Linked DNA regions of Homo sapiens: regions 2, 3, 4, 5 and 6 are each linked to region 1. Evidence: promoter capture Hi-C in 16 types of primary human blood cells and fetal thymus (Javierre and others, 2016). All regions are on one chromosome and are shown on one strand. Each heading gives the region's core, a stretch centred on a gene start or on the middle of the fragment in contact. The rest is flanking DNA. Distances are from core to core; before and after follow the strand shown. Region 1 holds the start of PDS5B (PDS5 cohesin associated factor B). Region 2 holds the start of B3GLCT (beta 3-glucosyltransferase). Region 3 has its middle 24 kb from the start of RFC3. Region 4 has its middle 70 kb from the start of RFC3. Region 5 has its middle 89 kb from the start of RFC3. Region 6 has its middle 110 kb from the start of RFC3.

Region 1 (3,853 bases), core at 384-2,883:
ATTACTTTACCTGACCACTACATGAGTTAATATAAAAAACGTTCTGTCTGGGAACTCGGGATGTGTTAACTGAGAACAATGACTATACTGCCGTTCAAGCATTGGGTAATTACGATTTATTTACAGCTCGCCTCCTGTATGTAAACACAACTTGAGTTTTTGAAGTTCATTAGGAAGATAGTATAGGATTACCCAACTCTCTCCACACCGCAGACCAACCCTCTAAATTAAGGCTATACCCAAAGTTTTCGAAACTATTTCATCAACAGGGTAGGATCAGTCTGGGCACCACTGCCCATCCATCACCTCTTATTAAAAGTACGAGAAGCACTTTCTTCGACATAAAAAAGGGTTAACCCTCGCTGGGGGAGAGAGGCTGTTGAAGACGCGCGTGGAGTGGGTGGGTAGCTGCTCTACCAACCCTTCCCGGAGCTCGCCCCGTCCGCGGCAAGGAACGCAGCAGCCTGCAGCTCCGAAGGCGAGGGGCGGCGTTTCTGGTTTCAGTCATTCGTCCAAAATAACTGTCGAGCTACTTAAGAGTTAGCTTTCACGTCTCTACCAAAAACCAACAGCAGTAGCAGCAACAACAACAAACAAGGTTTTTCTCCGGACCGAAAACTTTTAAAGTAACATTAAAATAACAGTGTAAAAACAATAACGAGTCACAATTGCACACCATTTTCCCCGCCGTTCCTTCTGAAAGGAAAGCTAGAACCCAGTTGTGGCCTGGGAGGAGTCCCTCCACGCCAGTGCTGGGCTCTTCCTCAACTGGCTGCTCGGGGACCACTCGGGGTGGCGCGGTGAGCGCGATTTCCCTCCGGCGAGCGGCGAGGGACAGTGCAAAAATGTCACGCTCAGCCCGTCCCCTGGCCCGAAGCGGAGGCCAGGCGGCGCGCGGGGACCCGGCGGCGGGGGCGAGAGCGCCCGCGGCCCCGACCCGCGGTCCCCGCCCGCCCCTCGCCCGGAAGGGGGAGAAGCCCGCCCGCGGGAGGATTCAACAGGAGCACCGCGCCGCCCGCCTGCCGCCCGGGAAACAGCCGCCGGCCGGCCGGGGCGCGGGGGGAGGGGCGCGGCGGCGGCGACGGCGGCGGCGGGAGGGCGCGGGCGGCCGGGCGGCCCCGAGACCCCCGCCCGCGCGCAAGGTCACCGCCCGCCGCCGCCGCCGCCCCGGCCGGGATCAGAGCGGCAAGTTTAATTTTCCAGAGGCTGCGGCAGAACCCGCGGCGTGGAGGCGCGCGCCGGCCGCGGGGCCCTCCCCACCCCCACCGCGCAGCCGGCCCGCGCCCCGCGACCCCCGCCCCGGGCCACCGCCAGGCAGCCACCCGCTGCAGCCCCCGATGCCGGGAGGCGAGTCGCGCCTGGCACCCAGGCGGGCGGCGCTTCAGCCCTGCCACACACACGCACACAGCGGCAGTGGCGGCCGCTGAAAAATGGAGCGCCGCAGCCAGAGAAGAGAGACATTTTCTTTCCGTTAACTGAATTGTTTCCTACCTCCGGGTTGCCGACTCGCTACTCCGCTCACTCCGGGGCTCTCCGGGATCCGCCGCCGCCGCCGCATCCAATCGCCTTCTCCCCCCCCCTCCCCTTCCGCAGCCAGCCCTGCCGTTCCTCCTCCTCTCCGCTTCAAAATGGCGCCAAGCGCTCTTCGGCGGCTGCTCCAATCGAACCGCCGCGGACAGCACCCGGGGGCAGGCAGAGCGCGGCATGGGTGCGCAGCGCCCCCTGCCGACCAGACGGCCCCGAGCGCGTCCGCCCTCCGAGCTCCACCCCGCCCCGTCCGCGCGCGCGCACGTCCCTCCTCAGCCCCGCCCCGTCCGCGCGCACGCAACCACACGGGCACGCCGCCGCGGGGCCCGCGAGAAGGGCAGCTGTCAAGGCGTCCACTACTCTTGCGGCTTCCTAGACCTCTACCGACAAAAACCACACCGATTGTTACGTAGCCCTATCTTTTTAGATAAAGGTTGGGAGATTTTTTTAAACCCTGACATTCAGCACAGGTGTTGTGATGGGTAAACAGAATTGGTATTATTAACTACTTTGCTCCTTACTTGTTAACTCTGACCTAGTCGTCTCGGAATGCCATACAAATAGTTTTCCTACACTTTACGTGTTATGTCTTTATTAAATCTCCCCGCTTTCCTAATTTGAGGAATTGTTTATAGGTGGTAGGCTGGCGGAGACAGAGTAATTGAGCCTGTGACGAAGCATTCCATTCCTTTGGCAGAATTGTCCTTATTAGAGGAAGAAATCATCTGGAGACCACAGGGACACATTCCAGGAGGTGGGTCTCCTCCCCTCTTCACCTCTAAGGGATGCCAGTCCCTCCTGCAGCTGTAGAGTGGGTTTAGCCTGGTCACCACAGCAGATCACCTACCTTGCGGGAAGGTTTCCTCCCCAGCCGGGTCCCTGCCAGAGCTGAAGAAGGGACTTCCTCCTCTTTTTACTTTAATACCATCCCTGCTGTAAGGAAGTTTCCCCTGATATGATGTATTTGGTTACTAGAATTTTGTTCCAGGGAGAATTTGTTTCAACAATGAACAAGCAAAGTGTGAATGAATGGATTACAGTAGGATACTTATCAACTGAAACAAAAGAGAGGTAATGCTGATATATAAACTAATGCTACTGTGTTAGAAAAGGTATGTACATCGGTATTCCATCGGACCCGGGCACCTAGAGATACTGAGACCTCTTCATTTCCATTTTTGTGGGATTCGCTGGACAATTCCGCCTCAGTCTCCTCCAGTGCTTGCTAGACCAATATGTTGTGTTACTGTATTCCTGTGTCCAAGATTTTGCCACTGAATACTCCAGGTTCTACCCATTTTATACATTCCTCGATGAAGTCTACTATGAGTTTTTTCTGCCCTCTTTTTAAAATTATCTCAGGAATTTTCTTATTTTACATCGTTGTTCCATCAACATAAATCTTGTATGGGAGAGTAGGATGTCTAGATCTAGAAAAACCTTTCCTCTTTGGTTGTTTTTATTATGTTTTTTACTTTATTTTCTTCAATTCCCAAACCTCCAAAGCCAGGAAGCCAGAAAGTTTCAGAAGAAAGCCAGGATGAAAGCAAGAATTTTTTTTTCTTTTTTCTTTCTTTTTTTTTTTTTTTTTTTTGAGATGGAGTCTTGATCTGTCGCCAAGCTGGAGTGCAGTGGCGCGATCTTGGCTCGCTGCAACCTCCCTCTTGAGTTCACGCAATTCCCCTGCCTCAGCCTCCCAAGCAGCTGGGACTACAGGCACACACCACCACTCTCAGCTAATTTTTTGTAATTCTTAGTAGAGACAGAGTTTCACCATGTTGGCCAGGATGGTCTCGATCTCCTGACCTCGTGATCTGCCTGCCTCAGCCTCCCAAAGTGCTAGGATTACAGGCGTGAGCCACCATGCCCGGCTAAGAGTTTTTGTATAAATTATTCAGTGCTCTTATCCCCATTATTTGACACCTGGAAGCCTCAGTAAATATTTTGTTGGATGTATGAATTGTTTAAGAATGTCACTCTACATCTTGTATATGGCAGTGAGTCCTGAAAGGGCTGAAGGTGTCACGTCAACTTTGTGAGCAGTTTTGCCAGTTTCACCATTAACCCTCTCTCTTATAAAATGATGCCTTGAATTTCAATGAGGCCCGGAATACATATTGCCCACGTTAGGCTGCTAACACCACAGGATTAAGCCCAAGAAAAGAGTGGGCAGAAAGGAGATAGCCTTCAAAATAGCTACATTGTAAGGGTCAATGGGGCAATTACCATTAGGACAGACAGAGGAAAAACCCTAAAGCTTTAATGAGGCATAGTTTCTAACAAAAGGGCATACTTTTATATGACTGCAAGTGGCTTTACAGAAATC
Region 2 (3,853 bases), core at 716-3,215, 1.4 Mb after region 1:
CCAGTTCCCAAAGGCCAAATGTCTCACAGGGACCTTTTAATGCATTTTATGTCTTATTTATTGTGCTTATCTGACAACTTCACAAGGCTAATAGACATCTCTAAAAATGTGTTGACATCTTAGTGCATTCTGAATGTCCTTCAGTGTATTATCAAATTTGGACAGTGCAAATATTCCCCTGGGGGTAATAAAAAATAGACACAGCAATACAAATGTGCATTTCAGCCCATATGTTGTATATATTATATACAAATATTATACCCCCAGTACAGCATTATAAAGTGCAGTGCTATAAATAGAATACCAATTTCAGCTACCACCCACCCATTTGGTTAGTTGCAAAACATCCAGGCAACAAGCCAACTGATGCAGCCAGGAGTCACCCAGTCGCTTTCCCAAACCTCCAACCTCCCTTTCTCCCAGGGCTGCCACCCAGCAATGCCCTTCTTCCACTGAAGCCGATTCCAGCCAAATTCAGTCGCTCCCCAAGACCAACTACAGCCTTCTCTGCCGGAGGTGCCCTAATATTTTTAATTACACTGCTGCCTAATTAATCATGCATGTAAACAATTACCAACTAATCTTGCTCTTTTCCCACACTTACTGAGCGCCTATAGAAATGCCAGAAGTACACAAATGCAGCAAATTAATCCTTATTCAGAGAGCTTAAATACAAATAAAAACAGGCTGTCAAGGTTCCGGTGGGCTAACAAGAGCAGTGCGCAATAACGCTACGTCTTTTCCTAAACTGCACCATTCTGCCATTACTAAAAAATCTGAAATCATTGCCTTTTCACACCAGCAAGTCTGGGTTAGAGGACAAAAACTCTGTAGCAGTCTGAAAAAAAAATAATTTTTCGCTCAAGCTTTCAAAGTTGAACAAATCTGATCATGAAAGTCAATTACAAGGCTGCTTTTTTTTTTTTTTTAACTTTTATCACATCGTTTTAAGATAAAGGGGGGAAATGCCCTTGCGAGGAGAAAAGAAATAAAAAAGAATGGGCATTACAGCAGCAGGAGACCGGGCAAGCACTGCTCTGCTCGCAGACGTGTCCCCTGATGTCCCCAGCGGAGACCCGAGACAGGAGCAAGCCTCCCCGCCGCGCCAGCTCCCGCGGAGGCCCAGCGGGCGCCCCTGTCCTCCTCCGGGTCGGAATCCGGGAAGGGCTGGCGCCGAGCTGGCCGCTTATCCTCAGGGGCCAGGGCACGTCCCGAAGGCCCTGCGGAGGGGCGCGCGGACACCGGGACCGCAGTCCTCGCCCCCGGGGGTCGAACAGGAGCCGCGGGGCCTCGAGGGCCGCCTCGCCGGCTCCCGTCCAGCCTCCCGCCCGGCGCGGGGCGCGCAGGACGGCGGAGCGCGGGCGGAAGGCAGGGGGGCGGGACCGCCGCCGCCGCCACTCGCGCTGTTGCAAAGTTTCTTCGGTGGCACAGTTCCTGCGCGCTTCCTGTGGGGGCGGCTGCTGCGCCCTCGCCGCCCCGTCGCCCGCCGGTTCGGGGCGGCAGAGGCTGGGAGACGCGAGTCTGGGGCCGGGGCGGCAGCGGGGACCCAAGACCGAAAGGGGCCGAGCGGGCACGCCTCGGGTCCCGGGCCCGGGTCCCACCTGGGCGCCGCGAGAGGGCGCTGCTGACGGCGCGGCGCGGCGGGGACCGGACGGCGGGACGCGCGCGCCGGCGGGGCAGGGCTGGGCCGCCCTGCGCCTCCCTCCCCGCGCCGACCGGGGCACGGGCGACTGTGCCCGCGAACCCCACGCCTCGCCCTTGCGCGCCTGGCCGCCCGCTACTTACCCAGGGAGCAGGTGAGGAGCGCGAGCAGCGCCGGCGGCGCGAGCAGCCACCAGCAGGCGGGCGGCCGCATCCTGGCGGCGGAGGCTGAGCGCCCTACCTGGGCGCGGGGAAGGGAGACGCGCGGGGAGCGGAGCTGCGCCGCTGCCGCCGCCGCCCTGCCGCCGCGGCTGACCCTTCTCTGCCGGCTCCCCTCCTCCCTCCGTCTCCGCCGCGCCATCGCCGGCCGCGCCCTCTGGCGGCCGGGAGCGGGAGCACCCCTGTGCGCGCTTCCAGCGTCTGCCGGGCTGGCGGCTGCGGCTGGTGTCCGGCCCGACGGGCTGCTGCGGTAGAGGTGGCCGCGGCTCTGCCCTCACGGCGCCCTCCTTCGAGGCGTCTGACCTCTGCCCCCTCCAGCCACCAGCCTCCACCCCTCCTCTTCCTTTCTCCTCTGCGTCCCTCCTGACCTAGGCCGCGTCCCCTGCCTTCATGCCCTCCCACCTTACCGCGTCACCCCCATCAGTAGTTCTACCTGTGAAGTGGAAGCGAGCAGTAATCACTTTTCCTCCCTGCTAATGTATTATCTGCTGTGGAAAAAAAAATGTAATCAATAGTTCAACTCTTAATATTGTTGGCACCAATGCTCTACTTTGATGAAGGTGTTTTTAATCAGCTCAACTAATTTACTTAATATCCCCTTTAAATGGAATTTGGCCAATAGCCTAGGTCTGGGATTTGGCTTTTAAACAAGTTTGTGTAAATGTAATTTTCTATAAATGTAATTTTAAGTGTTCACCATAATGGAAGAGAGTGGGTGTAATTTTATTCAAAATATAAAAATTAATTAAACTGGAATACAGAGAAGTGGAGCAATGTGGGAGTGCCTCCTGTTCCCGCAGGACTGCGAAGGGCTTTCCTCCCCAGCCCGGTAGAGTGGTGGCCCTGATAGGGGACTGGTCCTGTTGTGTTGTGTGGTGCACTGAAGGGGAAAGCATTACAAGTAAGAACTAGAGGCTCCCTTCAGTGGTTCTGAACTCCTTCGTGCCTCCCTCAAGCCTTGGCTCACTTCTGTTTCCAAGGAAGTGCACAGGACCAAGTGCTTTTCCCAGCCCTAGTTTAGCCCATGACCTCTTGAAGGCAGTTTCTATGTTTTCCTTCATATTTACTCATTTGTTGGATACCTACTATGTGACTGCAACTCTGCTAAGCACCCTAGGAATGCCAGTATCTTTCACATGGACATACAACATTCACCTACTTGCTAAACATTTAAGGAGGAGGAGGCCCTGGGAGTACAAGTAGGATGGCCCTGGGAATACAAGTAGGATGTCCTGGAGACAGAGAAGCAGGTGCTGAATAAACATTTGTAGGCTTGAGCCCTCTTAACTTGAATGCGTTTAGGGGACTTAGGCTCTAATGCATTAGGACAGTATTGTCTGCAATTGTGCAATACCTGCTGGGATTGTTTTGAAAAGGAGGCCTGGAGACAAAGAATTTTCTCTCTGTGTGGTTTATATTGACTTCTTAAAACTGGGAACTAAATATTTCACGTGTGATCCATTTAGTGTGAGTGCAAATAGTTCCCTTTTGTTCCATTCGCCCAAGGTTTATGGTCTCTTGTCAATACCATTTTGATGGGAGGAAAAAGAAATGTAGGGATCCTTCCATTTCATTTCTTAGTGAAGCATTTCAAATCTATGGTTGACTGAATTCATTGCTTTTATCCTTGGGAAATTCTCAAGCTTACCTGCCTAGTAGTTCTAGATTGTTTCCAATTTCCAAAGCTGTTTTCGCTTTTTTCCAAGAAAATATTCCTTGCATATGTGGGGTAGTAAACATTTAACCAAACTGTTTAATTAGACACAGAAGACTAATAAGCAGGGTCAAATGCCTACTCCACGTGGGTAAGCAACTCCTGGTGCTTAATCAATGTTTTCATGGAAATTCATCATGTTAGAGTATTACTATGTTCCAGAACAAGGTGTGGAAAATTAAGCCCTAAGGACAACAGAGAACACACCGTTTAAGTAATAAACTTGCCCTGGTGTCCTTCCTTTCCACAGTAGACATAGATAAATGGCACATTACAAAG
Region 3 (3,853 bases), core at 652-3,151, 1.3 Mb before region 1:
ACAAGATCATAATGTCTAGTTCAAAGAGTGTTAGGAGAATTAAATGAGAGAATGCCTGTGAAGAATCTAGCATAGTGCCTCACATAAAGGTACTTAATGTTATTCTAGAGAAACTGTGTCAAGCTCTTTCCATGCCTACAGCTAGTAATTATTTTGCACAGCTGCTCTTCAGGAAGTTGCTTAAGTTTCTGGTGCTGCTATATTAAAGAGAAGGTAACTTCAGTGGGCCATCAGCTAATTAAACAACTGCAAAAGGAGCATAAGCTACTAAGCCACAAAGGTACCATATAGTGTTTGTAAATTGGCATTAGGCTGCAATTTAGATAGGAGCTGAGGTTTGTGGAGACCACTATTTTTGCAAAGCTGCAGAGAGGAAAGTAATTTATTGTAAATCTTGTACACTATAATCAAACTGATAGAGAACATCTTGTGATAATGCTCCAAATTTCCATAGAAATTGTAAACAGGAAAAAAAAAAACAGGAGCAAATAGCTAGAGAAATCTGTTCATCAATTTGAAAAATATGAGATGACTATGTTTTACTTGGGAACAAGGTACAAAGAAAATTGCTGCCAAGAGTTGAGGTTTTTTTTGTTTTTTTGTTTTACTTTTTAAGGAATGTGTTTTGTGATTAAGTGCTATAATTTGGAAATAATATTTAATGTACTATTACTCAATTCTGATAAATCTCAGAGTGTAAAACAGCACTTAAAACTACAAGTTTCTGTTGTGATGTATACTGCACAACTACAAATCCCATGAACAAATTTTTAATTTATATGAAACATAAAATCATAGATTTTTAAAGAATGGCATAAAACACTGATTCACACATGGAAACCAGGGCCTTAGGTTAGAATCCTAGCTTCAAGACTTATACTGCCACTAACTGTTAATGGGCTTGCCCTCCCACTGTACAACTAAAAAACTGGACAAAATATATAAAGCAACCAGTAAGGTCAACTCTATACCATCATTCTGGCTTTCTGCCTGGAAGAAAGTGGCTGCGGGGTGGGAAAGAAAAACCTTCCTTCCCACCCTACATTTGGCTGCAGGGTAGGAAGGAAAAACCCAGGTAGAGAACTGTGATAACAGTGAGTTGAGGAAAAGGAGCAGAATTCAGAGAGGCTGAGGTGGCTGCCTATGTTGGGCAGAGATCTGGAAAGAAGGGAGTTACACAGAAAAGCACTCCTACGTTAAGAGTTGCCTTGTTATCTTTGGTTGATTACTAACACGCAAGTAGCAGATACAGTCTGGATCCACTGGACAAAGAGGGTTCACATCTTAGGTGGGATGGAGTAGGATGGTGGAAGATTAGATCGTATTACATTACTCAGAATGGCATGCAATTTGAAACTTACAAATTATTTCTGGATTTTTCTTTTTTTTTTTTTCCTGAGACAGGCTCTTGCTCTGTGGCCCAAGCTGGGGTGCAGTGGCACGATCATAGCCCATTGCAGCTTCAACTTCCTAGATTCAAGTAATCCTCCCACCTCAGCCCCACTAGCGGCTGGGCCCACAAGCACATACCACTACACCCAGCTAATTTTCTATTTTGTTTATCATTTGTAGAGACAGGGTCTCAATATGTTGCCCAGATCATCTCGGGCTCCTGGGCTAAGCAACTTTCCCGCCTCAGCCTCCCAAAGTGCTGGAATTACAGGCATGGTCACCGCACCTGGCCACATAATATTTTCAAATTGCAATTGACCATGGGTAACTAAAACCATGGAGAAAATAAAAACTGCAAGCTGAATAATTTCCAGAGCTCCCACAAGGCTGGAAGATATTTGAGTTCTGGTGACCCAGAATGGTTATACCCCAATGATCTCCAGGACATGCAGTAGAGACCCTAGAAATATCATGCCCCTATTTTAAAGCTAAATTAGGACTCAAGACTACGCCAGGCCTACTCCAAAAAAGTTTACAAACAAGCATGAAAAACAACAAGCTGATAATCAAATACAGTTGACCCTTCAACAATGCAAGAGTTAAGGGCATAGACCCCTATGCAGTCAAAAACCCCTGTATAACTTTTGACTCCCCCAAAATGTAATTACCAATAGTCTATTGTTGACTGAAAGCCTTACCAATAACATAAAGTCAACTCATTTTGTATATGTCTTATATACTGTATTATTATATAAGCTACAGAAAATATTGAGTGATATGGAAGAGAAATTACACCTACAGTACTGTACTGATACTTCAAAATGAATACACTGTCTGAAATTGAGGGCAACCACAGCTTTAGACCTCAATCTGTAAAGGTACCACATGGCATTTTAAATGAATACAACACTTAAGCTCACTGCAATACCAACAGGAGGTGGCTACAGAAGTATTCAGGCAGCATAGTATGTACTGTAATTTTATGCAGTTATGATTTAATACTGCACTCCCCAACCTTTTTAGCACCAGGGACCAGTTTTGTGGAAGACAATTTATCCATGGACCCCAGAAGGCTGGAGGAAGGGGTGGAGAAGGATGAAACTGTTCCATCTCAGATCATCAGGCATTAGAGTCTCATAAGGAGTACACAATCTAGATCCCTCACATGTACAGTTCACAACAGAGTTCCCACTCCTATGAGAATCTAATGCTGTTGCTGATCTGACAGGTGGTGGAGCTCAGGTGGTAATAGTCTCTGGTGCTCACTGGTTGCTCACCTCCTGCTGTGTGGCCCCAGTTCCTAACAGGCCACAGGGGGCTGAGGACCCCTGAATTTTACATTTGTTTACATTTCTCTTGGCTGTGAATGGCACCATGTATGGTCTGAGTTTGTGAAAGTTTTGATAAATTTTAACTTTTTGTACTAGATTTGTATATATTTTATCACAGTAAATGATGAAACAGACTAGTAGCTACACATATTTTAGGCATTTATGATGTACCTTTTTAAAATTTTAAAAGATATTTCTAGGTTATGCATTTTTCCATGAGTATTTTCAAATTAAGTCTCAAAAAAATTTTTTGTTTATTGAAAAAAAAACTACGTATAAATGGATACACACAGTTCAGACTTCTGTAGTTCAAGGATCAACTGTAATTGTCTGCCAAGACAAAGTCCAACAGTTAAAAAAAAACACACACAAAAAAAAGAATTCAGACACTTGATAATGTAACATGACAATGTAATAATGAGAGAGCCAGAATCCAATCCAAATTAATGCACATACAAAAAGGCAAGAAATCTAACCCACAACCAGGAAAAATATCAGTCAATAGAAACAGATCCAGAAATGACAGATATAATAAGCAGACAGACTTCAGAAGAGCTATTATAAATATGTTCAAAAGATTTAAAGAGAAACATAAAAACAATGAGAAATATAAAAAAGCAGCAAATGAAACTGCCAGAGCTGAAAACTTGAAGGAAACTATTCAAACTGTAGGACAGTGAGAAAAAAGCTAGGAAAAAGAGAGACTCTGTGACTTATGCAACACTACCAAATAACGATGTAATTAGTCTTAGAGGAAGGGGCAGAAAAATATTCAAAATCAGTTTTTCAAAATTTAATAAAATACAAAAGCCCATAAATCAAGGACTGCAACAAACCCAAAGTAGTGTAAAGCAAGATAAACACACACACAAATCGCACCAAGACGCTTCTTACTCAAACTGTTGGAAACTAGTCATAAAGAGAAGTTGGAAATCTTAAAAGCAGCCATAGTAGCAAAATAAAATTAAAAATATGATGACTACATATCTCTCTTCAGAAACAACACAACCCAGAAGACAAAACACAGATGGGGAAGAAAAACTGTCAAACTACAGTATTTAATCTGTATTTTGTATTTTGAAACCATCTGTATTTTGTCCATTGAAAATGCTTTCCAAAAGGAATGCAAA
Region 4 (3,853 bases), core at 468-2,967, 1.2 Mb before region 1:
CTTATTAATTTTTAATTTCATGTGCATGGGGATATCACAGGAAAATAAGGTGAACACCCAAAGAAATGGTAAGGTTTGGGAGCTTGTATACCATCTTAATAGGGGAAGAGGTGTGGGGAGAGGTAGGTCACATGGGAGAGACCAAATGATTTTTAAGAAAGAAGAATGGGCTTTTAGAAGCATAAATATGATAATGTGATCACTTGTGACAAAATTTGCCTAGGTGTGGTGTCAATTTCCAGTGTCCTCTTTTTTTTTTTTTTTGAGACAGAGTCTTGCTGTGTCACCCAGGCTGGAGTGCAGTGGTACGATCTCCGCTCACTGCAACCTCCGCCTTCCGGGTTCAAGCAATTCCGCCTGCCTCAGCCTCCCAAGTAGCTGGGATTACAGGCACCCACCACCATGCCTAGCTAATTTTTTTTATTTTTTAGTAGAGACAGAGTTTCGCCATGTTGGCCAGGCTGATCTTGAACTCCTGACCTCGGGTGATCCGCCCTGTCCTCTCTTTTAATAAGCGTCAATCTTCTTCTGTTGATGAAATTCCCAGGGAGGGGATTAATGACAATGGAGTCAATTTTGAAGGATCTGTCTTTAGGCAGATAGGAGAGTTCAGAGAAAGCCTCTCATTGCATTTGCTGCTTTTCAAGTGCCCTCAGCTCAAAATAATAAATATAGTTGTCCCTTGGTATCCCTGGGGATTGGTTGCAGGACCCTTGCGAATACCAAAATTCACCAATGCTCAAGTTCCTTATATAAAATGGTGTAGTGGCCAAGCACAGTGGCTCATGCCTATAATCCTGGCACTTTGGGAGGCTGGGGCAGGAGGATCACTTGAGGCCAGGAGTTTGAGATTAGCCTAGGCAACATAGCAAAACCCCATCTGTACAAAAAAATTTTAAAAAATATCTGGACATGGCTGCACATGCCTGGTGTCCCAGCTACTCAGGAGGTTGAGTTGGGGGAGGGTGACTTGAGCCCAGGAGATCATGGTTGCAGGGAGCCATGATTGTGCCACTTTACTCCAGCCTGGGCAACAGAGAAAGACTTCCATCTCTTTTAAAAAAACTAAATATATATACACATATTTTATATATATATATATACACACACACACACACACACACACACACGTATATGTAGGATATATGCAAATACTATACCATTTTATTACATTTATATATACACATATTATATATACACACACATATATATACGTGTGCGTGTGTGTGTGTGTGTGTGTGTGTGTGTGTGTGTGTATATAAAATATGTGAGTCCCTGGAGAGGGCCCCACCCTGGAGCTGAAAAGCCTGATACCTTGGCCCAAAGTGAGAGCTTACATCCATGTTTCCCCACTTGAATGTTGCCTTTTCCAGAATCACCCATGGCCCACCCCATAAAATCCCCAGACTCAGCCAGCAGAGAGGAGGATAAGTAGTTGGACATTGGAGACTATGGTTGGATGTTGGAGAGAAGCAACTTGATTTCAGAGGGACAGCTTGATGGCATATCTTCAGAGAGGAGTCTGGCCAGACATGGCTGGACTCCAGGGGAAGATTATCTTCCCACTTTGTCCCCTTTTCAGCTCCCCTTCCCACTAAGAGCCACTTTCATTGGCAATAAATTCTCCTGTGTTTGCCATCTTCAGTTCATTCCTGCAACCTCATTCCTTCTGGATGCTGGACAAGATCTCGGGTGCCATGAGTGTAGGTGCAAAGGGCTGTCACACTGACCCTCCACTGAGCTGTTAACACTTAAGCCACCCACAGGTGGCAAGGCTAAAAGGGCACTGTAACACTCCTTCTGAGTCTACAGGAGTCACGGGCACCTCCACCCCCAGATGCCACTACAGGGCTGGTACAGAGTTTGTACTTGCCAGTGCCCAAAAGCACTCACCCTGGCTCCTGTACCTGCTCACCTGCCTGCTCCCCATCCCAAGAGAGGTGGAGTGCAGTAGGTCAAGTGAGTAGAGTTTGCTCCTGCCAGTGCCCATGCACTCCAGTTCCCACCCATGAAAATGTCAGGGAAATATCCTCCTTCATTAGGACCCCAAAATCACTACACTGATGGGAAAAGTCAAGCCAGGAACTGCTTTGGGCCAACCTGCCTCCCTTTCTATTCAAAGTCATTCCTATGCTCACTTAGATAAATGTATATCTGACTGCCTCCTTTGGAAAGGCTAATCAGAAACTCAAAAGAATGCAATCATTTATCTCTCACCTACCTATGACCAGGAAGCCCTCTCCCCACTTTGAGTTGTCCCGCCTTTCCAGATGGAACCAACGTACATTTTATATATATTGAATGATATCTGGTGCCTCCCTAAAATGTGACTGGACCACCTTGGGCACATGTTGTCAGGACCTCCTGAGGCTGTGTCATGGGCTTGCATCCTTAACTTTGCCAAAATAAACTTCCTAAATTGACTGAAACCTGTCTCAGTTATTTTGGGTTAACATGTGTGTGTATGCATGATAAAATGGTGATAAAATGGTATAGTATTTGCATATAATCTATATATATCCTTCCATATACTTTAAATCATCTCTAGATTAGTTATAATACCTAATACAATGTAAATGTTGCAAAAAGAGTTGTTACAGTATATTAGGTTTTTATTTGTATTATTTTTTATTATTGTTTTGTTGTTGCTGTTTTCTCTTTTTTGAATATGTTTTGATTTAAATTAGCTGAATACTTAGATACAAAACCCATGGATAAAGAGGGCTGACTGCATACCAAAACAGTATATTTTGGGGTAGCATATCCTGAACTCCTTGACAGTCATACTTTGGGGTAGTATATTCTGGACTCCAATAATACATATTTATTTCAGACTAACATAAGATACCAATAAACAAAAACAGAGAAATAAAAATAACTCATAATCCCATCACCCACAGATAAATACCATTATGTATATAGTCCCCAGGCCTCATTTCTTTTTTCCTAAGAAGGAAATGTGTACCATATTGTATGTTTTATAACCCGCTTTTCTTATTTCTCTCCATATATAGAAATATTCTGCCTTTACAACATTTTCAATATCTATTCCATAGTCCCTTGGAAAGATGTATGCTTTTATTCTACAAATCCCCTTATGTTGGACATTCCGTTTAGTTTCAATCTTCTAATATGATAAGCAATGCTGCAATGAACTTCTTTGTAGGTAAATATTAGGACAAATTAATGATTTATGCTGTTGCTTAGGATGTTTTAGAATTGCTGGTTTTAAAATATGCTAATTTTAATCCTTTTGGTATTTCCAATCTGCTTTATTTATTTATTTATTTATTTATTTATTTTTTGGAGATGGAGTCTCACTCTGTCACCCAGGTTGGAGTGCAGTGGTGTGATCTTGGCTCACTGCAAGCTCTGCCTCCCAGGTTCACGCCATTCTCCTGTCTCAGCCTCCCGAGTAGCTGGGACTACAGGCGCCTACCACCATGCCCGGCTAATTTTTTGTATTTTTAGTAGAGACGGGGTTTCACCGTGTTAGCCAGGATGGTCTCAATCTCCTGACCTCGTGATCCGCCTGCCTCCACCTCCCAAAGTGCTGGGGTTACAGGCATGAACCACCACGCCCGGCCTCCAACCTGCTTTATTAAAAGGCAATACTAAAGTGAAATCTCAGCCATACAGTCTACGTACCATGACTCCTCTTTAGCCACTTTCTATTTCACAATGAACTCCTACATTTTCCATACAGCTACTTTGAACTCTAAATAGGTTCATCATTTCTCTCAATACTGCCAATGCTGGTTATTATCATTTTGTTTCATCTTTGGCAATGCAATAGTAGGAATTCAACAGAGGGCATTGCAATATTATAAGTCCTCTTACTAAATGGAGCATT
Region 5 (3,853 bases), core at 606-3,105, 1.1 Mb before region 1:
AAGGGGCTCCAGTACTTAAAAGTTGAGTAGAAGATTATGTGTTAGAAGAACTAGAAATAGTTTTCAAGGATAACTAGTGTGGTACTGTATCCCAAAAGCCAAGGAGATGCAGAGTAGCAAACAACGGAAGTCATCAGAATAGTCTAATAAGTCAGCACAGGGCGGTGGCTCACACCTGTAATCCCAGCACTTTGGGAGGCCAAGGCAGGTGGATCACTTGAGCTCAGAAGTTCAAGACCAGCCTGGCCAACATGATGAAACCCCGTCTCTAATAAAAGTACAAAAGAAATTAGCCGAGCATGGTGGTGCACACCTGTAGTCCCAGCTACTCTGGAGGCTGAGGCAGTAGAATCGCTCGAACCTGGGAGGCGAAGGTTGTAATGAGCAGAGATCACGCCACTGCACTCCAGCCTGGGCGATAGAGTGAGACTTGGTCTCAAAGAAGGAGGAGAAGAAAAAAAGAATAGCCTAATAAGTCAAATAAAAAAGGACTAAAAACATCTTTGTGATTTAGGGACATGGAGGTCCTCAGTGATCTTAGCCAGAGCATTTAGAGAGTGAATAGCATAAGTGTAGTTATTAGTGCTTGAGGGCTGAGGAAGCTCAGAGTGTAGATAACTCTTTTGAGTGGAGTGAGTAACTGTCCAGTGTTGCCTAAGACAGTGCTGGTTTGGCCTGTTGTCCTGGAGAAACAGCTCCCTCTTCGAGTCTCCAACGTCGCCTGGTTTGAATGATAAATTATACATCATCTATATGAAGGGTGAGGAAAGGGAGGCAGCTGGAGGAGAAATTGGCATCGCATAAAAATCCTGAGCACTGTGATACAGCAGGGTGGCGGCATGCAGCTGTGAGTGAACCCCCATTTGAAGGTGGAGAGCCCTAAGTACAATTTTTAGTTCTACCATTTATTGGCTGTGGGACCTTGGGCAGGTTTATTTAAGCTCTCTGAGGCTAAAAGGACTTAAATTTCAGGGTAGAGTAAGGATTTTGTGTCAAGTGCTGACATATCATGCTCAGCAAGCATGAGTTCCCTTCTTTTCGTTCCCTCTCACTTGTTATTTGGCCCATGTTGTAATGGTTCTGCATCATTTCCTTCCCCACCTTCTACCCCCCACTGCTCCCCTCTTCACCCTCAAGTATCTCACACCCTTTGTGACAGAGGAAGTTCTTATTTCTATGTTTCTAGTGAAGCACTCTGTGTGTGTTAACATGTCTCTCTCTAGAAAATAGTTGGTGACCTTGCCTCCCTGCTCCATTATCCTAGCTGGGAAAATGTACTGATGCCCAACTCATTCATGTCAGTACATTTCAGCTAGCACTGATTGTTGCCTGCACCCCATGCTAGAAATGCTGAGAAATTCCACTGAAGTGTATGATATGATTCTTTTTGTCAAGAGCAGTCTCTTTCAGAAAGACAAATACTGTTCATAACATTCTTGCTACTTCCATTCCCACTACTTCGGCAGCTCTCCACCATTTATGGAGCACTTAGATACTCTGGGCTAGGCCTCTAGCATATGTGACAGGAAAGTTTTTAGCTCGTGCAAGGTATTGTTATAATGATTCCATTTTACAAATGAGGAAAACTGAAGTTTTTGTTTTGTTTTGTTTTGTTTTTGAGACGGAGTCTCACTCTGTCACCAGGCTGGAGTGCAGTGGCACAATCTCGGCCCACTGCAACCTCTGCCTCCCTGGTTCAAGTGATTCTCCTGCCTCAGCCTCCCAAGTAGCTGGGACTACAGGCGCCTGCCACCACGCCCAGCTAATTTTTGTATGTTTAGTAGAGACGGGGTTTCACCATGTTGGCCAGGATGGTCTCAATCTCTTGACCTCATGATCCACCTGCCTCGGCCTCCCAAAGTGCTAGGATTACAGGCATGAGCCACCGCTCCCGGCTGAAAACTGAAGTTTTAAGAGGTTAGGCAAACTGCTCAGAATTGCACAGCTCATAAGTATCTAAACTGGAGTCTGAATTTTGATCCATTTGACACCGAAGCCCTTAACCTTTCCATTTCTCAATAGAACAAAAAACAAATGAAATGTCATCTCGACACTTTACAATTTAGACAATATGCCATTTATATAGATTGTTTAAAACTTTTCATTAGAAAACAAAACAAAATCAATTTATGAAAGGGTAGACTTGACTCTTATCATGGGTCCAGATAAATGGTTCACCATTAATAAAGTCAAAGTGTGCACTCACTGAGCCGACATTCAGTACTAGGAGTACTTGCATAGCCTAGCAGGATTTTGGTCAGGACATTTTTTATGGGTGATTGTCTAAGATGGGCAATGTGTTCTACCACTTATTAAACTAGAAATGCTCCCCAAGGATTAGATTATAGATTTCCAGAGTCTCTTCTCTCCTCAGCATTGACTGTTTAAAGCAAATTTTCACTTAAATGCCCTTGAAGTCAAGTTGGACAGATTCAGTCCTGCCATATTCCAATAGCTCCATGTTCCCTCGACATGAACTCTCAGCTTTACAAGTACAAACAGGTGCTCAGGGTTCAAAATGACAGAGTTCACCGCAGTTTCCCAATAGCACATTATTCGTTTTCAGTTCCTGTTTCTAGCACTGAAATGGCACAGCCTTTAGCATGATTTAAACTGCCTGCTTAGAACCTAGCTGAATAATATTTGACTTTCAGCACTGCTGAAAGGATACTTAAAGCACAGACCTGGCATCTGTGTCATCTTCTGCAAATCAAGGTTGATTAATAACAAAATCACCTCGCCCTGGCATCCTGCCTTTCATCTGAGCAAGACTGAAGCTATTCCTGGAAAAAATCCAGCTTTCTTTTGCTACAGTCCTGAGACATGCCAACTGACACAGCAGGGGCAGGAAGGAAGGTCAAAGTTAGCATTTGAGTTTGGGCTGTGGGGAGGGAGGAGACAAGATGGCAACTGGTCCTTAAGAAACCCAGTGTGAAGGTTCTGTACGGTCAGGGCCCAGGGCTGACATCATGGGTGGGGCCACCATCATGCTTTCTCTGTCCAGCCAAGCTGGCACCCTTTTTATGGGCGAGCCTTCCTTCTGGAAATTGTTGATGTCATTAGTGGGTGTGGTTTCAGGCACTTTTCCCGCCTTTCTCCTGAAAACAAGTAGGTTATTCTTCTACATGAGAGAGTTCAATCTGTGCTCCATGGAAACTTGCCATGGCTCTAAGGACTTTTGAAAATGTGGAGTTTAGACTACGGGAATTTTTGTAGAGGAATTTTTTTCCTTCACAATTTACATTAAGAGGAAAAATATTCTGTCACTACTTTCTCCTAATTTTCACCTCACTGTGTCTTACAGCATTGCTGCCTACCTAAGAACACTGCAAGAATGTGCTAGAAAGTAGTAAAACCCATGCAAAGAAGATGCTTTGTGTTGTACTTGACATATATTGGACTCACTTGTATTGCAGTGCTTTCAACTAAATGTTTTCCTTCATGGCTCTTATCATATTTGTATCCATCTGGCCATTTGTGTAGTTTTTAATATTTTTCTGCCCCACCAATCTGTAAGTCCTGTGCCAGCAGGGCCCGTACCTATCAAGGTCACACTGTACAGTTCTAACAGTGATTGTGGTTTGTGGCATGTGATTATGTATGTGCATTTCATATGGGTATATGAAAACTCTATCCTTCAACCCCCAACCCCTCCACAGGCTCAGAACTTTACAACTTGGTTAAGAGTATGAAAAAATATTTAAATCTGGAAAGTTCAATCTTTCAAAAACATTGAAAACTTTTTTAAAAATTGCCTTTAGATACCGAAATTTAAAAAGTTTAAACCCACCTTTTGACCAAGAAAGAGGAGGTTGGCTTTTCTTGAGCAGACTTACTGATGATCTTGATATAA
Region 6 (3,853 bases), core at 915-3,414, 1.1 Mb before region 1:
CTTGTCATCTCTCAACATTAATTTTTGATGGCTTGTTCCAAGAATAACAAAAAATGAAGCCAAAGAGGCTGAAAGGACAATAACAACATCTCTTTTTGTACCTGGAGATATACAACTCCAGTTTTCTCTGACACACAAATTAGCATCTCAGAGGAAGGAACCGTGGCACCAAGGGATGACAGATCCCAAAATGGTAACACTAAAACCAAAATGCAATGAATATTTTGCCATTAAACAAGATAGGTTCTAAATAGATTAAATGTTTATTAAACTAAATTAGTGTTTTTAAATAGTTAAAAGATTTAGAACTTAAATCCCAGTAATATTTCTCAGCAGTTAGAACCAAAAATAAATTCAAGTCCTCATAATTACCTATAAAGATTATAGTTTGCAAAACAAGCACACTGATTTTTAGAGAAGGGAGAAAGAATAGACTTAACAATCCTCCATATTTTCCAAACACAATTTTGCATTAAGCAATCTTCTGGACCTATGTGAAAGTTATTCATCAGAATATTTGCATTTTTATTTTTTGCTCTTTTTATATATCTTGTGACTATATAATATACCTGATGTCAGAAGAAAATTCTGCTTTGTGTGGTTCACAGCAACTTTTCCCCAGAGGAACTTGCAGGACTTTCTAGATCTAATGTGTATAGCCAGCAAGCTTTCTGTTACGTTGTAAAGTGGAATAATATGTAAACATCATTAACACCTTTTTCATTCATGCACCCAGCTGTATTTTCATTTCCTTGATTTATTAGATATAGTGTTCACTTTTATGGTCTCCATTGTCTGAAAATAAAAGGACAATATAAAAACACAGAAACAACATTATAGAGTTTTTCTGTCTTCTAGTTTCTTTATTTAATCAAACCAGTGCTAAAATGGATCATTTAACTATTAGCAGCTTCTAGAAAAATATAAATACATAATTTTTTTTTCTGTCCTATACTAAGTTGTAGATCTTGTCATGCTGTGATATATACTCTTCTCCAAGGTATGATTAAGGAGTTCCTTCATTAAAAAATTAATTTTTCCAGAGTGAGATCACCAAGATGGTAAAATAGAAAGTAAACCATGGCTGGGCGCAGTGTCTCATGCTTGTAATCCCAGCAGTTTGGGAGGCCAAGGCAGGCGGGTCACTTGAGATCAGGAGTTTGACACCAGTCTGGCCAACATGGTGAAATCCCATCTCTTCTAAAAATACAAAAAATAGCTGGGAGTGGTGGCATACCTGTAATCTCAGCTACTCAGGAGGCTGAGGCCGGAGAATCACTTGAACCCAGGAGGCGAAGGTTGCAGTGAGCTGAGATCACACCACTGCACTCCAACCTGGGTGACAGAGCTAGTCCCCGTTTCAAAAAAAAAAAAAAAGAAGGTAATCCATTTATCGCCCCCAGAATATGAAGAACTGTATACCCATCCACAGTCAAAAGTCTCTCTATGGGAGCCTCAGGATGTAGGTAGGAGTTTGTGAAATCACAGTGGAGCCCAAGACCTAGGAGAGTTGTTTTGAGACTACAGACTGACATCTAGTTGGCAGATCTACCCTGGCACACTTGTTTCTGGGTTCAAGCCCATAAATAGCCTAGTCTCCCAAGGGGCTTGGTTATAGCTTCATTTAGCCTTGAGTCTACAACCAAAACCATCTTCCCAGGCATCCAGAAGAAATCATGCACACTAATGCCTTGGTGGAAAGAATTGTTGGTTGGCAGACTGACATCAGTCTCAGCAGTGAACCTGAAAGTTGTCCTGAGGGGCTGCCCCAGGCTTCCCCAGCTGAGGTCCCAGCTCAGAGCTACAAGAGGACCCAGAGGGAGTCGTAAATCCTATATCACCTATATATCCCTGCCTCAGGGTTTGAGTCTCCCTGATGGGCTCACCAACCTCTAACCCACAGTAGATCTCAAGGGGACCCAGTGTCAGCTCCAGCCCCTCTCACTGCAGTGAGGGAACTATCCCATCTGTGCTGAGATCTGCTGGGAGATATGTAACTACCTGCACCAATGACATGGGCTCTCCAGTCTCTGTCCTACAGAAGATCGTGAGGGCCCAGTCTCAGCTCTGGCCCTTCTTGCTGCAGTCAGGTAACTATTCTGTCTGTGCAGCATCCTGGTAGGAGACAGGTGCCCCTCTGGAACAACAAGACTGGGCTCTCTGGCCTCAGTCTCATAGCAGATCTTGAAGGGGCCCAGTCTCAGCTCTTGCCATTCTCACTGAAGTTGGGGAATAATCTTATCTGTGCTGAGACCTGCTGGAAAACATGTACCTGTATGGGCAAAAAAGAGATTTTCCAGCCTCTGTTTCACAGGAAATCTTGAGGGGCCCAGTTCAGCTTCAGCCCCTTCTGATGAAATCAGGGAATTATACCATATGTTCAGAGAACTGTTGGAAGATGCATCTTTATCTAAGCCAATGTAACAAGCATGCCATCCTCCATCCAGAAGAGATCCTGAAGTGGTATAGTCTCAGCTCTGGCCACTTCTGCTGCAGCTGGGGAACTATCCTATGTTTGAGAGAACTTGCTGGGTGATGCATACCCCTCTGAGACAAAACAAGGCTCTCTAGCCTCTGTCTAACAGCAGATATCAAAGTGGCCCAGTCTCAACTCCAGTCCTTTTCACTGCAGTAAGGGACCCATTTTCTCTCTGCCGAGACCTGCTGGGAGGGACACATGTCTAGGTCACCAGGACAGTCTTCTGGACTCAGGTCCCTGACCAGCACTCCCATACAGCTCCAGTACTTCTCTGGGTCTTTGTCAGGTCCACGTGGGCCAGAAAGCTACATCAACCTTGGAGCCCCTGTGAGATTTGCAACAAGCCTGGACTTAGAATATCTCTAGTGCTGAGACAGCTGCAGTGGTCAAAGGCTCAGGGAACAAAACAGTCAGTTGCCCAACAGTCCCTTGAAGGCCCTCTGAAGAAGGGCAGACAGAAACAAAGCTAGATTACAAAGACTAAAATAAATAACGGATCCCTCAATGTGCAGACTTTCACAAGCATGAAGAACATTCAGGGAAATATGACCTCACCAAACAGACAAAATAAGGTGCCAGAAGGCCAGGTGTGGTGGCTCACACCTGTAATATCAGCACTTTGGGAGGCCAAAACAGGAGAATTGCTTGAGCCTAGGAGTTTGAGACCAGCGTGGGCAACATAATGAAACCTCATCTCTACAGATAATTAAAAAAATTAGTTGGGTGTGCTGGCATGTGTTGTGGTCCCAGCTACTTGGGAAGTTGAGTCAGGAGGATTGCCTGAGCCTGGGAGTTCAAGGCCACAGTGAGCTGAGATCAAGCTATAGCATTTCATCCCGAGTGAGAGAGTAAAGCCCTGCCTCAAAAAAGAAAATGATAAAGATAAAAATGTGGGATCTCTCAGACAAAGAACTCAAAAAAATAGCTGTATTAAGGAAGCTCAGCAAACTTCAAGAACACACAAAGATTCAATTCAGAAATTTATCACAAAAATTAACAGAGAGATAAAATGTTTTTTGAAAAATTCTGAAGCTGAAAAATGCAATGCATGAAATTTAAAAATGCAATAGAAAGCATCAAAGCAGAATTGATCAAACAAAAAAATCAGTGAGGTAGAAGACAGAGTATTTAAAAATACACAGTCAGAGGAGAAGAAAAATAAAAAGGAAAGAACAAAGCTTACAGGATCTATGGGACAATATCAAGAGGGCAAATATTTGGGTTCTTGGAGTTAAAGAAGGAACCAAAGAAGAAAAGGGGTAGAAAGTTTATTCAAAGAAATAATAACAGAAAACTTTCTAAATCTGAAGGAGAATAAATATCCAGGTACAGGAAGGTCAAATGTCACCAATCAAATTCAACCCAAATAAGAAT

What was found. Contacts are between HindIII fragments. The CHiCAGO score rates a contact against its expected background, and 5 or more counts as called.
Region 2: a contact is called between the fragment with the promoter of B3GLCT here and the fragment with the promoter of PDS5B in region 1, in 1 of 17 cell types (non-activated CD4 T cells). The highest score is 5.1, in non-activated CD4 T cells.
Region 3: a contact is called between a fragment that was not itself captured here and the fragment with the promoter of PDS5B in region 1, in 1 of 17 cell types (neutrophils). The highest score is 5.0, in neutrophils.
Region 4: a fragment that was not itself captured here is called in contact with the fragment with the promoter of PDS5B in region 1 in 1 of 17 cell types (neutrophils); the score reaches 5.3 in neutrophils.
Region 5: a fragment that was not itself captured here is called in contact with the fragment with the promoter of PDS5B in region 1 in 11 of 17 cell types (naive CD8 T cells, naive CD4 T cells, neutrophils and 8 more); the score reaches 12.4 in naive CD8 T cells.
Region 6: a fragment that was not itself captured here is called in contact with the fragment with the promoter of PDS5B in region 1 in 1 of 17 cell types (total CD8 T cells); the score reaches 6.5 in total CD8 T cells.

Annotation. Positions count from the first base shown.
Region 1 is chr13:32,584,232-32,588,084 of GRCh38, reverse strand. It overlaps PDS5B (PDS5 cohesin associated factor B), which reads right to left and starts at 1,633. Exons shown (of 35, transcript NM_015032.4): 1 at 1,492-1,633. PDS5B-DT (PDS5B divergent transcript) reads left to right here and starts at 1,640. Exons shown (of 3, transcript XR_001749808.1): 1 at 1,640-1,708; 2 at 2,163-2,281; 3 at 2,516-3,067. RefSeq lists an enhancer at 529-588 and silencers at 819-1,068, 1,489-1,568, 1,579-1,948. The HindIII fragment of the contact is 4,434 bases long and covers 1-3,786 here.
Region 2 is chr13:31,198,087-31,201,939 of GRCh38, reverse strand. B3GLCT (beta 3-glucosyltransferase) reads right to left here and starts at 1,965. Exons shown (of 15, transcript NM_194318.4): 1 at 1,786-1,965. The coding sequence starts at 1,855. RefSeq lists silencers at 1,005-1,254, 1,315-2,214, 2,265-2,324. The HindIII fragment of the contact is 2,637 bases long and covers 869-3,505 here.
Region 3 is chr13:33,839,832-33,843,684 of GRCh38, reverse strand. It overlaps a transcript of RFC3 not described here. Among named protein-coding and RNA genes, the nearest start is that of RFC3, 24 kb to the right of the region's middle. The HindIII fragment of the contact is 4,422 bases long and covers 1-3,853 here.
Region 4 is chr13:33,746,313-33,750,165 of GRCh38, reverse strand. No RefSeq gene overlaps it. Among named protein-coding and RNA genes, the nearest start is that of RFC3, 70 kb to the left of the region's middle. The HindIII fragment of the contact is 4,481 bases long and covers 1-3,853 here.
Region 5 is chr13:33,727,613-33,731,465 of GRCh38, reverse strand. No RefSeq gene overlaps it. Among named protein-coding and RNA genes, the nearest start is that of RFC3, 89 kb to the left of the region's middle. The HindIII fragment of the contact is 6,126 bases long and covers 1-3,853 here.
Region 6 is chr13:33,706,761-33,710,613 of GRCh38, reverse strand. No RefSeq gene overlaps it. Among named protein-coding and RNA genes, the nearest start is that of RFC3, 110 kb to the left of the region's middle. The HindIII fragment of the contact is 2,990 bases long and covers 670-3,659 here.